5 separate regions of the Homo sapiens genome follow, and regions 2, 3, 4 and 5 are each linked to region 1. Evidence: promoter capture Hi-C in human tissues and cell types (Jung and others, 2019). All regions are on one chromosome and are shown on one strand. Each heading gives the region's core, a stretch centred on a gene start or on the middle of the fragment in contact. The rest is flanking DNA. Distances are from core to core; before and after follow the strand shown. Region 1 holds the start of CHRNB3 (cholinergic receptor nicotinic beta 3 subunit). Region 2 holds the start of SLC20A2 (solute carrier family 20 member 2). Region 3 overlaps SLC20A2 (solute carrier family 20 member 2). Region 4 overlaps RNF170 (ring finger protein 170). Region 5 overlaps SLC20A2 (solute carrier family 20 member 2).

Region 1 (2,700 bases), core at 56-2,555:
CATTTGCAGGTGTCAGGCCCTGGACACAGAGAGATACAGAGGAGACTCCAGAGGGCTGGAGACCAAGCCCTCCTGCAGGAGCTGGTGGTCTAGGAAGGGAGGCCAGGCAGGGCAGCGACATTGTGATGTGAGGGGCTCTGAGACAGGGGCCCTGAGGAACAGACAGGGCTCAAGAGCTCAGGGTCCCGGGGTCCTGGGCTAGACCTCTTTTCCACACATGATGCCTCCTTACCGAGCACCCTCTGGGTGTCTCAAACTCACTAATGGCACACAGAGGAGGGTTAAATTAAGAAATTTAAAAATTGGACTAAATCACTGCCGCTAAGACAGAATTCCTCCATGCCCTGGAGTGGGTTCCTCCAGCACTCAGTTCCCAACCAGATAGGTCTTGGCTCCCACCTGGCCCTCTTGTCTGTCTAGCCCTGACTTTGTACTTGCCATTCATTTGATGTATCATGCATTTATCAAGGGCCCTCTGGGTGTGCACAGCACTGAACTAGATGAAATCTGATCAACTGTGAAGAAGAAAGGATGGTGTTATTAGTGTCCAAGTCTCATACATAAAACACCACTAACCTCCCACCCTACTGTCCCCTGCAGTGACCAGAAGGTGGGCCTGGTGGGGTCAAGGGAGCCACAGAGAATGTGCTGATATTAACACATGTGGGAACCAGCAGAATAGGGAGGCTCCAGGACATACTCATGACTTCAGGTCCAACTGGAAAAGAGAATAGAGAGGCTGGGCGCAGTGGTTCATGCCTGTAATCCCACCACTTTGGGAGGCCAAGGCGGGCGGATCTCCTGAGGTCAGGAGTTCAAGACCAACCTGGCCAACATGGTGAAACCCTGTCTCTACAAAAATACAAAAATTAGCTGGGCATGATGGCAGGTGCCTATAATCCCAGCTACTCAGGAGGCTGAGGTGGGAGAATGGCTTGAACCTGGGAGACGGAGGTTGCAGTGAGCCGAGATTGCACCATTGCACTCCAGCCTGGGTGACAGAGTGAGACTCCATATCAAAAAAAAAAAAAAAAGAATAAAAAGAAAAAGAAAAGAGAATAGAGAAATAACGGGGATGAGAAACTTTTCACTATGGATGTGGTAAAGTGTGGTTCTTCTGTACGCAGATCTCCAACTGTAAGAAAAATAGCACAGAACATTCAGAAGTTGTCTAGTTTCATCCTTTCTCCAGTGCCCCGCATCTCTTGCAAGGGAGTAAATTAATAAGTCAGGAGTTAGGACCCAGAGATATGTTTTAGACTTACACGATCTGACAGCTGACTGCAAATCAATGAAGTGCACTTTGAGAAGCGGCACACTCGGCGAGAGGGGTTGAGATTGTTTTATTCCACTCCAGGTGTTGCTGTCCTCTTGGGTTCCACTTCGGATTTTGAACCCCTGTATTTTCTTTTCAAAACCCCCTTTTCCAGTGGAAATGCTCTGTTGTTAAAAAGGAAGAAACTGTCTTTCTGAAACTGACATCACGATGCTCCCAGATTTTATGCTGGTTCTCATCGTCCTTGGCATCCCTTCCTCAGGTAAGCACAAGTCACAGTAAATTAAAACTACAGTTGCAGAATTATTTAAGCAGAGGAGGCAAAACTATGGTGTTGATAATGTTAGAATTACAATATGTAATGCACAAGATACATTTAGGATAACCTTTAAAATGTGGCCCAAATGAGTAATTCTGTGAGATGTGGGGTTTTTTTTGCTGAAGAAATCATATCTATGATTTTCATAATGTTTATGTTTTTGTCATTTGCTGCGTTTCTCCTTCTGAATCACTATGAGCTTGGTAAGAAAATACAAAAGCAGGAAAAACATTATTGAATGCACTGAGCATTACTCAGAGAATTGTTCAAATATTTGGCACAGAAATTTACTATATCAACATTTTTCTATCATATTTACCAATAATTTCTATATCTGCATGTAGATATTTAATTTTGTCCAATATGCCCTGTAGGCCTATATATTTTAATAAATCTGTGTATGTAGGTAGATTTAGCATGTTTATATATCACAATTAAACACCAATGTATCAAAACTCTATGTGTTTTATGTGACTATTATCAACTGAAAATAGAGGAATTTTTGATAAGGATAAAGGACAAATAAAAGGAAAAAGTGAAAGATAGAGACAGAGATGCAGAGAAAGAACAAAAAGAGAAAAAGAAAGGGGAATAAAGTACTGAAAGGCTTTGGGGATTGGTCATTTGCACCTGCCAATTTCCTGGGTTTGGGAATCTTTTCACTTTTTGTGTAACTTGAGAACAGAAAGTTTTCCCCCATTGAATCAGAAACCATCTGAAACCGCAGCCAGATGGTGAGAAAAGTGTCAGTTCACTAGCAATTTGTATTAATTTCTCAGTAGTATTTTTGCCACGTTTGATTATTGTAATTTTCAAATGGAGAACTGGAGACACTAAGGGAGATTTGCCCAAATCCAGAAATAAATTCTACATTTCAAGTTCCCAAGGCTGCGAGGCACCTGAACATTATCCTGTTGTCAAAAACGCCTTTTCTCAGACCAAGGACTCAAAGTCAAACAGGAATTTCTAAATGCAGAAAGCCTCAAACTCACTTTCAAATATCATGAAATTTGGACTTTTCAAAGTCTTGAATGCAGTTTGCCAATCACAAAAATGATAAGAAAATTCTGTGTGTTTGAGCTTACCATTAATGTACGTGTGTCTG
Region 2 (2,700 bases), core at 164-2,663, 200 kb before region 1:
ACTAAATGGAACACTGAAGTATTTCCTTTCATTGTTGACACTTTATGTCATTTGCATTTAAAATCAGACAATACATAATAACAAAGAAGTCTTTAACTAAATCTTTTCAAAATGGGAAAATGGCTTTCACAATACTAACTGTGGACCTGCCTCCTTCCTTGCTCTAGAGATGACAGGCATAGATAGCTGGTGAGCACCTATCCTATCGCCTAGGAGAACTGTTTTATTAATAACAATATTCCTAAAGCTGATACATTTACTTGCTAATTGATAAAGAAATTCCTGCCTGGTTCTCTGCTGTAAGCAAACTGTTTGGCTTGAGGTCAGTCCACATTGAAAACACACTTCTAAATAAGCAAGATGATTCAAATTTAATTTAAAATATTCAATATCAAAATCTTTTGTTTTCTTCAGTACAAATTTAAGTTGGTAATAATGTGTTAGATGAACTGCAGTTAAGGTTACAGAATCCCATGGCCTTTGGTTACTTTTGATAACTAACTCAGTCTAAAAGAGGATGCTTTAAATTATTCTCTAAAACCTTCTTCCTAAATTAATTTTTTAAAGTGCTTCTCTTTAGGCATATATGGGTTTATTTTTTAAGCACAAAATCCCCCTTAAAAGGATAAAAAACTGTCCATCTATACATTCAAGAAAATTACATTTGACACTCCATTATTTCTACAAAATAAACTTGTAGCACAGAGTATAACAGGAATTAACTTTCAACATTTTTTTCTCAAGAATTAGGTTACCATAGTAGAAAACAAAGCTCAATGACACAATACAATGTTTCTGTATTTACAGAAACCATATCCATTAATCAAATATTTTAACATAAAATAATAATCTACAGATTGCTTTTGCAAAAATAAGTAAGAATCGAAAACTTTTTCTTGGGCAAATTGAATAAGGCAGATTTATTGCAGTAGGAGACATTTAAAGAAAAACCTTTTGCCACCTCTCTTAGCTTTCTCTAACGTACCAACCTGAAAGCTTCCAGTTTTCCCAAGAGATAAACATTACTATGACGGTAACATTAGGAAGATTTAAGGAGAAAAGAACAAAGAGAAGTCTTAAAATTCCACCCAGTACTTACAAGTAGTTTCCAAGAAAACTGAGCCACAATTCTTCAGAAGACTGCTCTCCTGATCACAAACACAATCTGAAGTCTAAAATAGATATCCTACCACATTAGGCCGAGAAGTCACATTTCAGCTTGCTAACTTCTACTTTTACAACTCATAGAACTAACCCCGGCTAAAATTAACTGCAGCCAAGCAGCAGGCAGGAACACGCTGATTTGCATCATGTGTGCCGGGATTTATTCACTAGGACAACATCGGTGTCCTCTTAATGGGAAATGCGGCCAAGGGGCGTGCCCTGGTGAACAATACATAGCATCATGATTATGCTAATTACTGAATTCAGTCCAATAATACTAACTTCTTTTAAGTTGTTTTTGCAAGTACTGACAAAGAGAAGGAGTAAGCTTTTTCCCAACAGGCATTCACTTGATTTTTAAGCACATTCAAATCAGACCAAACTTTGGCAACAAGGTGGCAGTGCTGTGTGCTCTTCACAAGCAAAAGCAAAGCAAAAGGACATTCTGTCCGATTATTTAAACAGCGTGATTAGATGCAGCACTACGTGAAATTAAATAGACACAGAATATACATATCAGTAAGTCTATCCACCAGAATCCTGAAATAAAAGCTTTTTCTTTCTCTATAATGAACTGATTGCAGGGACTTGCTTTCTGGCTCTGCCTCCTCCTGCACCTCCCAAGGAGTCGCTATGAAGACACAGATTCAGTAATAAATCACAACTGAGAATAAACATCTCAAATATTTGCAAAGGCATTGTCCTTGGCAAGAAGCATTTTAAGGTGGATTTAACTCCTTGGCTAGAAAAATTGTCCTCTGTAGGTGACTGACCATCTACAAAGCATGTTGGAACTCAAGTTAACAGGTAAAGACCCCAAACATACAGCTGACACTTAAAAGAAAATCAGAACATGAAAAACTTTCTCTCGAAAATATAAGTACAACTTATAACAAAGACACAAAACCGCTTAGTATCTACTCAAGACGGTTTGGGACTAGTTTGCTTTAGACTAAGTTCTGATGACATATTTTGCTCTTATTGAACACTCTATGAAAGATATCAAAGCACTTTACAAACATCAATCAAATCTCCAAGCATCTTTGGGAGATGTCATTTTCCTCTTTTTTTTTTTTTCCCACAGACAGGTAAAAGACAGGGTAATTCCATTTCAACGACTTCAACCAACCCTGGATCACCCCATCTCCTCCTGAGACCTTTATAACATCTTCCGTATTAACCACTTACCTATAATCCTATAGACCTTTTCAGAGCCATTTGTTTTCCTCATTTTAAAATGTCATATGTTAGTTTGGACTTCAGGAGATTCACTCTACTTAACACCCAGATGCCAGGCCTGAACCCCAGGGGCTTAAAAAGCCCTCCTTGACTCTCTCTTGCAGACAGGTATCCTGCAACATGGATCCCTAAAACATGGCGATGCCCTCAGGAGGCACTGTCCATCTGCAGCCTGCTGCCCAAAGCACAAACCGGTTGATCTTCATTGGTGTGAGTTGGACATCACCAGCACAATCTCCCTCCTGTTGTTTACAAACACTGCTGGCTGCTGATCTGAGATTGCATCCCCTCGGCCTA
Region 3 (2,700 bases), core at 121-2,620, 210 kb before region 1:
CCTGGCCAACATGGTGAAAATCTCTCTACATGGTAAAAATCCGTCTCTACTAAAAATACAAAAAATTAGCCAGGTGTAGGGGCAGGTCCCTGTAATCCCAGCTACTCAGGGGGCTGAGGCAGGAGAGTCGCTTGAACCCAGGAGGCAGAGGTTGCAGTGAGCTGAGATTGTGCCATTGCACTCCAGCCTGGGCAACAAGAGCAAAACTCAGTCTCTTAAAGAAAAACAACTGGGCTGGGCACAGTGGCTCACGCCTGTAATCCCAGCACTTTGGGAGGCCAAGCTGGGTGGATCACTTGAGGTCAGGAGTTCGAGACCACCCTGGCCAACATGGTGAGACTCTGTTGTTTCCGTCTCTACTAAAATCCGTCTCTACTAAAAATACAAAAATTAGGTGGGCATGGTGGCAGGTGCCTATAATCCCACCTACCAGGGAGGCTGAGGCGGAGGCATTGGTTGAACCCAGGAGGCAGAGGTTGCAGTAAGGCGAGATCGTGCCATTGCACTCCAGCCTGAGTGACAAGAGCAAAACTCCGTCTTAAAAACAAACAAACTAATTAACTGTATTTGGATAGGAGAAACACATTTATAATGGAATAGGTTGCAGCCCACCGAAGTGAGCTCCCACTGGAAATGTGGACTCCCCAGCAGTAGAGACTTTTAAAGTAGATCACCGCCTTGCTGGAGAGTCTGAGGCACACTACTGTCTGGAAGCGAGGGACGAGAATAGCCAAGCTTTATGAATTTATTCCCACTCTCTAACACAGAAAAGACTCTTCAACATTTTCTCCTTTCTTCCTTTCCGTATGCACTATAAATGGATTCCCCGCCCTCCCAGATATTCTAGGTATTTTCTTCACTCATAACCAAAAATAGGTAGATATTCGTGAGCAAATCGCTTAACATATGAAACTTCTATCAAATGACAAACCTAGGATCACTTGTTCCAATTCTGTGCCCTGAAATGTTGGACTGTTTGGCTAAGTTCCAAGAGCTATATTAGGAAAATACTTTCCCTTCAGAGACAGTTTAAAATGGAACCATGTATGAAAATAGATATGGCTCTTACATGTTTATTTGCTAACTTTGTTTTGATTCTATTGGAGGTTCAATAAAAATATGGATGGTACTTATAAAACTTTTTGTTCCTGGTACAACCGCATATTCTTTCCATTAATGCAACATTAATATAAACAGAGGAGCTGACAAATGAAATTATCTTAACTCCTTTCCATGCTCAACTTACAGCCCCATATTTCTTGTTATCATTCCAGAGATTCTTAAGCAATTGTTCTTAGCCAGCAGAAAAAACAACAGAGGACAAATGATTATTAAGTTGATCTAGGCAGCCTCTTCCTCTTTGCCATGTGGGAGAATCTGTTCAATTCTCTGAAGTGCTTCATCAGAAATCTGAAAACCTGATTCTACTTCACTAATAACTTGCTAAATTGGCAGTATAAACACACTAAACAAGGCAATATAGTCCCAAGAGCGTTCATTTGATTGGTAAGTCAGGTAGAAATTTAGCAGTTCCTCTCATCTTCTATGGAGACTGAGAGTGAAATCTTTTTACTAAATTAAGAAACCATGAGCACTGGCTTGATATTATTAATACCTTCACAAAACCATGGGATGGCAGTAAAAAACACAAAAGAGAAAAGACATTTTATAAGATTTCTTTGAAAACTATTTCCTCACTCTGAGAATGCTCATGGCTCTTAATTCCCCATGCACGATAAAGATCATCTTTCTTGCACTCTGTGCTTTCAAAGCTATCTTCCAGCTTTGCAGGAGAGGCCATGGGTGCAGAATGGGGTGCAGCCCCATGGTGTCCCCTGACAGATCCAATGTGCAGTCTGATGAAGTGTGGGTGGGTGTGGTCTATGGCTGGCAGCCACCATGATCCAAGAGAGCCTGACTTGGGAGGGCAGCCAGGCAGCTAAAGGCTGCTCCCATATCATGCGGGAGCACCTGGGCCTGGCCTTCCAGACCCCGAGGGCATCCAGCCAGCTGGGTGTTCTGCTTGCTGGTCTACACGCAGCCACTGAGCATCTCGGCCATGCAGCTGGCCCTGAGACAGCAGCAGCACAAAAAGGCCTCCAGGCCAAGAGGTGAACAGGGCACACGACTAAGCACAAGGCCTGCATTTGGACCAAAGGGCACCCTGGCAAACCTAAGCCCAGAGTGAGCCCTCGAAACTGCGGGAGGGAGGTGCTAACAGCCCAGCCTCCAGCCCACCTTTCCTCCTTCGCAGAGGTCAGGACAATCACAGCCCTTCCCTTCTCCCACCCACTGTGCCTGTAAAGGGGGGCTGAGATGACCAGGCATCAGAGTCACTCATTTATTTCCTCACTGCTTCTCTCACTGCATGGAATGTTCAGGGAGGTCAGCTGATTTCCCTGGGTACACTCACGGGGTAATGGACACAATGCGTACAAATAAAAGACCCAGAAAGCACCCCCCTCCAAAAAAGGGGAGCTTGTCAAGCTCCCTGTGCCTGCATTTTTCCTTTAGAAAACTTGGGGCTAGGCCGAACGCGGTGGCTCACGCCTGTAATTCAAGCACTTTGGGAGGTCGAGGCGGGTGAATCGCCTGAGGTCAGGAGTTCGAGACCAGCCTGGCCAACATGGTGAAACCTCATCTCTACTAAAAATACAAAAATTGGCCGGGTGTAGTGGCGGGCGCCTGTAATCCCAGCTA
Region 4 (2,700 bases), core at 148-2,647, 190 kb after region 1:
ACCATCCTGGCTAACACGGTGAAACCCCGTCTCTACTAAAAATACAAAAAATTAGCCGGGCGTGGTGGTGGGCACCTGTAGTCCCAGCTACTCAGGAGGCTGAGGCAGGAGAATGGCGTGAACCCGGGAAGTGGAGCTTGCAGTGAGCCGAGATCACGCCACTGCACTCCAGCCTGGGCAACAGAGTGAGACTCGGTCTCAAAAAAAAAAATAATAATAATAATAGAAAAGGCCCAAGGACAGAGCCCTGCAGCAATATACAATGTCCTTCTATTTGGTGTATATTAAAACATTAGTCAGGAATCCTAAGAACAACCTGCTTAGTGGAGTTCACTTAACTCTGCTATCATCTAGTCATTATTTCCCCCATGATATCCACAGTGTATCACCAGTATCAATCACTCTGGATTATCACTCTATAAAATACCCGATTGAAATCAAGATAATGTTACCCTAATAAGAGACTATCTTGGATCACTGCAACCTCTGCCTCCCAAGTTCAAGTGATTCTCACGCCTCAGCCGCCCAAGTAGCTGGGATTATAGGCACCTGCCACCATGCCCAGCTAATTTTTGTATTTTTAGTAGAGACGAGGGTTTCACCATGTTGGCCAGGCTAGTCTCGAACTCCTGACCTCAGGTGATCCGCCTGCCTCAGCCTCCCAAGGTGCTGGGATTACCGGCGTGAGCCACCACATCCAGCCTAAATTAATTTTAGAATCAGGTGCAGTGGTGCATACCTGTAGTCCCAGCAACCTGGGAAGCTGGGATGGGAGGACTGCTTGAGTCCAGGAGTTCAAGTCCAACTGGGGCAATGTAGCGAGACCCTGTCTCTAAAATAAATAAATAGGCTGGGCATAGTGGCTCATGAGTGTAATCCCAGCACTTTGGGAGGCTGAGTCGGGTGGTTCACTTGAGGTCAGGAGTTTGAGACCAGCCTGGCCAACCTAGCGAAATCCTGTCTCTACAAAAAAATACAAAAAATTAGGGCCAGGTGCAGTGGCTCAAGCCTGTAATCCCAGCACTTTGGGAGGCTGACGCAGGTGGATCACCTCAGGTCAGGAGTTTGAGACCAGCCTGATCAACATGGAGAAACCCCATCTCTACTAAAAATATAAAATAAGCCGGGCATGGTGGCATGTGCCTGTAATCCCAGCTATTTGGGAGGCTGAGGCAGGAGAATCGCTTGAACCCCAGAGGCAGAGGTTGTGGTGAGCTGAGACAGTGCCATGGCACTCCAGCCTGGACGACACATTGAGACTCCGTCTCAAAAAATAAATAAATAAATAAATAAGTAAAAAAATTAATTCTAATATTAGTTCCCTTTTTACTATACAAGTCTTTTTTTGCCTCAATTTTTCCATTTAAAACTGAAAGTATTTTGCACTTATCATCTATATCACCTACAAGTTGATGGATTTAATTATGGAAATTAAAGTTTTTTAAATTGCCATACGCCAATAGAAAGTACTAATATTTTATTCAAAATGTGGATGATAAATTTAATTATTATTTGGTAAGACAGCTGATGACAGGAAATATATGTTAGCATTCAAAGCCCCGTGGAAAATAAAATACCTTAGTAAACATCTACAATCACTGAGATCTGTTACTTGCTGTTCATATTAAGTATTATACATTATTAGGGGTCAAAAAGTCAGCAGCCCTTGCAAATCTACTCAATTCTTTTGTCCTTAAATCTCACCTGAAAAGTGCATATACCAGGGTAGCAATCAAAGCGAAACTGACCACAACTGCCACAAGTACTTGGTCGCTTACTCCTTCTATAACTGAATCATCATCCAGTTTCAAACTTTGAACTTCACCTTGATATTTGGCCATTCCAGGTCTAAAATAAGAAGAAACAAGATGAGAGTTACAAATGACACAGTGAAAATGAAATATACTAATAAAAGCAATGTAAATATAACTGACTTCTAATATATTTGGTTTCTGATAGGCTGCAATTAAGTACAACTCCAGTGGGGACTGATGGAGTTCTTTAAAATTTGCCAGACACATTATTTTGTGGAGAACAAAATTCTATTTCTATTTTTTTTGGATGGAGTCTCTTGCTCTGTTGCCAGGCTGGAGTGCAGTGATGCGGATCTCAGCTCACTGCAACGTCCGCCTCCCGGGTTCAAGCAATTCCCCTCCCTCAGCCTCCCAAGTAGCTGGGACTACAGGCGCGCACCACTACGCCTGGCTAATTTTTTGTATTTTAGTAGAGACAGGGTTTCACCGTGTTAGCCAGGATGGTCTTGATCTCCTGACCTCGTGATCCACCTGCCTCGGCCTCCCAAAGTGCCGGGATTACAGGCATGAGCCACTGCACCCAGCCAAATTCTATTTCTTTTAAGGAAAACAATTACTATAATTTATCATTTATTTATGTATTTTTTAAAAATGTTTTTTCCTCTTCAAGCTTAACCCCTTTAAAAAAAAAAAGCCATTCTTGGGCCAGATGCAGTGGCTCACGCCTGTAATCCCAGCATTATGGGAGGCTGAGGCAGGCGGATCACCTGAGGTCAGAAGTTCGAGACCAGCCTGGTCAACATGGTGAAACCCCGTCTCTACTAAAAATACAAAATTTAGCCGGGTGACGTGTGCCTGTAATGTCAGCTACTCTGGAGGCTAAGGCAGGAGAATCGCTTGAACCTGGGAGGCAGAGGTTGTAGTGAGGCCCAGAGAGCGCCACTGT
Region 5 (2,700 bases), core at 99-2,598, 240 kb before region 1:
AAAGTCTGGAAGCCCCACAGTGAGTATTTAAACTTTTTTTTTTTTTTTGAGACAAAGTCTCGCTGTGTCACCCAGGCTGGAGGGCAGTGGCGCAAGCTTGGCTCACTGCAACCTCCACCTCCTGGGTTCAGGTTCAAGCAATTATCCTGCCTCAGCCTCCTGAGTAGCTGGGACTACAGGCGCGCACCATCACGCCCAGCTAATTTTTGTATTTTTAGTAGAGACGGGGTTTCACCAGGTTGGCCAGGATGGTCTTGATCTCTTGACCTTGTGATCCACCCACCTCGGCCTCCCAAAGTGTTGGGATTACAGGCATGAGCCACTGCGCCCGGCTGAGTATTTAAGCCTTTAAGATCAATGTTCTGAACACTACACAGATACCACAGTAAAAGGTTATATAATGTTAGAATCATTTAGGAATACTTTATTCCCAGTACTGAAACATATAAAATATAATTAGATATTCTTAATAAAATCTGAGGAACATTACATTGAGAACTCCTAGTTTGAGAAAGTAATAAGGATTTCCACTATTTTGGAAGAGGGCGCTTTTCGATTATGATAGGACATGTCATTTAGCAGAAATTTCATCTTTAAAACACAGAGAGGGAGCCTTTTCTGTCAACATGGCCAATAACCAAATCTTCATCCATAACAGACATTAAGAAGATGAAAACCAGCACAAACTAACACATCTGTTGATGTCACAGATCCCACAGTCTGGCTGTAGGAGGCGCATCTCACAAACAGAAGAGGAATATTCTCTAGCAAACATGTACAGAAATGTTTAACAGAATGCTACTAGCTCATCAGTGCTGAAATGGGTGCAAACAAGAATACCATACATAAGCTTATTCATTTTCCTATTCAAGGTCTAAAAGAAAAGAATTAGGCCAGGTGCAGTAGGGCTCACACCTGTAATCCCAGCACTTTGGGAAGCTGAGGCAGGAGGATTACTTGAGGCCAGGAGTTTGATACCAGCCTGGGCAATATAGAGACCCCATCTCTACAAAAAATAAAAAATTAGCTGGGTGTGGTGGCACACACCTGTGGTTCCGGCTACTCAGGGGGCTGAGGTGGGAGGATTGCTTGGGCCCATGAGGTCAAGGCTGCAGTGGGCTATGATTGCACCACTGCATTCCAGCCTGGGCAATAAAGAAAAAAAAAAAAAAAAAGGCCGGGCATGGTGGCTCATGCCTGTAATCCCAGCACTTTGGGAGGCCAAGGTGGGGCGGATCATGAGGTCAGGAGACTGAGACCATCCTGGCTAATATGGTGAAACCCCTGTCTCTACTAAAAATACAAAAAATTAGCTGGGCGAGGAGGAGGGCGCCTGTAGTCCCAGCTACTCGGGAGGCTGAGGCAGGAGAATGGCATGAACCCAGGAGGCGGAGCTTGCAGTGAGCCAAGATAGCGCCACTGCACTCCAGCCTGGGCAACAGAGCGAGCCTCTGTCTCAAAAATAAAATAAAATAAAAAATAATTTTTAACCCCCCCCCCCACAAAAAACCTCTGAACCTTTATACAAAAGAACAAAAGCGGCCAGGCGCAGTGGCTCACGCCTGTAATCCCAGCACTTTGGGAGGTCGAGGCAGGCGGATCACAAGGTCAGGAGTTCGAGACCAGCCTGGCCAACATAGTGAAAACCTGTGGTGTGCTCCTGTAATCCCAGCTACTAAGGAGGCTGAGGCAGGAGAATCGCTTGAACCTGGGAGGCGGAGGTTGCAGTTTTCCAAGATAGCGCGATTGCACTCCATCCTGGGTGAGAGAGTGAGACTCTATCTCAAAAAAAAAAAAAAAAAAAAAAAACATAAAAAATAACAACAAAATCCATGAGAATGACAAGGAAAGGAGTAATTCAGCAAAGAAAATCATCATTGGCTTCGGTATCTAAAAAAACAAAGCATGGCTTCTAGTCTCTGGATAAACTGGTCTGATATTTCCAGGGGTCTGTACTCTGTGCTGTGAACGGCTTTAGAGCTCCGCTGGGCATTGCTGATGTGTGGACTGTCCCGCTCACTGGGTGCCAGGCATGGCCCCAGGTGCTCCACACCCTCTCCTGACCCCTGCACAACCCTGTAGGCCTGTGGGATTAGATCAGGTTCTGAGGCTCAGAGAGGCTAAGCTATAGTGGCAACACAGCTGCGTAAATGGCAGAGTGGGGATTTAATTTTTTTTTCTAACTTGAAAGTCTGTTGCCTTTGTACTCTACATATCTCTTGGGTATTTAATTAAGACAAGTAAATGCATTTACCACTCTTTTTACTATTCTATAATGACCATGAGTAACGCATTTTACTATCAGCCAACAACTCCAGCACCTATTCCATAATGACCATGAGTAATGCTTTTTACTGTCAGCCAACAATACCAGCACCAAATAAACTGATACTGTTAGAATACAATGCACTTTGCCCCTGGAGTATGCTTCCAAGGGATCCTTACCTGGTGCTCCTGTGTACATGATGGAAAAGACATTGATTGCTATGGTAGCAGCATAGAATACTGGGAGTGCCCGGAGGCCATTGGGAACAGGGTCTTCCTGTAGGAAGACAAGGAGACAGAGTGGAAGGTCAGGATCCCAGCAGCATTTGGAGCCAACACAGACAAAATGATACAAAATACTGTTACAAGAAACTCTTCCCAAACCCCAGTGTGGCCAAAAGGATGGGCGTTGTCACTGCCTGTGATCTGCTCCAC

Evidence for each region. The method cuts DNA at HindIII sites, captures the fragments that hold promoters and counts their contacts. A contact is called where the count stands out against the background at its distance.
Region 2: a contact is called between a fragment that was not itself captured here and the fragment with the promoter of CHRNB3 in region 1, in 4 of the 25 tissues and cell types used here (H1 embryonic stem cells, heart left ventricle, liver and 1 more).
Region 3: a contact is called between a fragment that was not itself captured here and the fragment with the promoter of CHRNB3 in region 1, in 2 of the 25 tissues and cell types used here (aorta and hippocampus).
Region 4: a contact is called between a fragment that was not itself captured here and the fragment with the promoter of CHRNB3 in region 1, in 1 of the 25 tissues and cell types used here (lymphoblastoid cells).
Region 5: a fragment that was not itself captured here is called in contact with the fragment with the promoter of CHRNB3 in region 1 in 3 of the 25 tissues and cell types used here (H1 embryonic stem cells, dorsolateral prefrontal cortex and neural progenitor cells).

What each region holds. Positions count from the first base shown.
Region 1 is chr8:42,696,061-42,698,760 of GRCh38, forward strand. CHRNB3 (cholinergic receptor nicotinic beta 3 subunit) reads left to right here and starts at 1,306. Exons shown (of 6, transcript NM_000749.5): 1 at 1,306-1,538. The coding sequence starts at 1,487. It overlaps LOC124900250 (a long non-coding RNA gene), which reads right to left. Exons shown (of 3, transcript XR_001745887.2): 2 at 1,266-1,440; 3 at 438-515. The HindIII fragment of the contact is 12,880 bases long and covers 1-2,700 here.
Region 2 is chr8:42,499,932-42,502,631 of GRCh38, forward strand. SLC20A2 (solute carrier family 20 member 2) reads right to left here and starts at 1,300. Exons shown (of 11, transcript NM_001257180.2): 1 at 1,100-1,300. RefSeq lists an enhancer at 2,207-2,700. The HindIII fragment of the contact is 5,530 bases long and covers 1-2,700 here.
Region 3 is chr8:42,482,832-42,485,531 of GRCh38, forward strand. The region is part of intron 1 of SLC20A2 (solute carrier family 20 member 2); the gene reads right to left. Among named protein-coding and RNA genes, the nearest start is that of SLC20A2, 17 kb to the right of the region's middle. The HindIII fragment of the contact is 5,297 bases long and covers 1-2,700 here.
Region 4 is chr8:42,886,024-42,888,723 of GRCh38, forward strand. RNF170 (ring finger protein 170) reads right to left here. Exons shown (of 7, transcript NM_030954.4): 2 at 1,705-1,848. The coding sequence starts at 1,841. Among named protein-coding and RNA genes, the nearest start is that of MIR4469, 8.9 kb to the right of the region's middle. The HindIII fragment of the contact is 7,579 bases long and covers 1-2,700 here.
Region 5 is chr8:42,457,451-42,460,150 of GRCh38, forward strand. SLC20A2 (solute carrier family 20 member 2) reads right to left here. Exons shown (of 11, transcript NM_001257180.2): 5 at 2,446-2,542. Among named protein-coding and RNA genes, the nearest start is that of SLC20A2, 42 kb to the right of the region's middle. The HindIII fragment of the contact is 6,800 bases long and covers 1-2,700 here.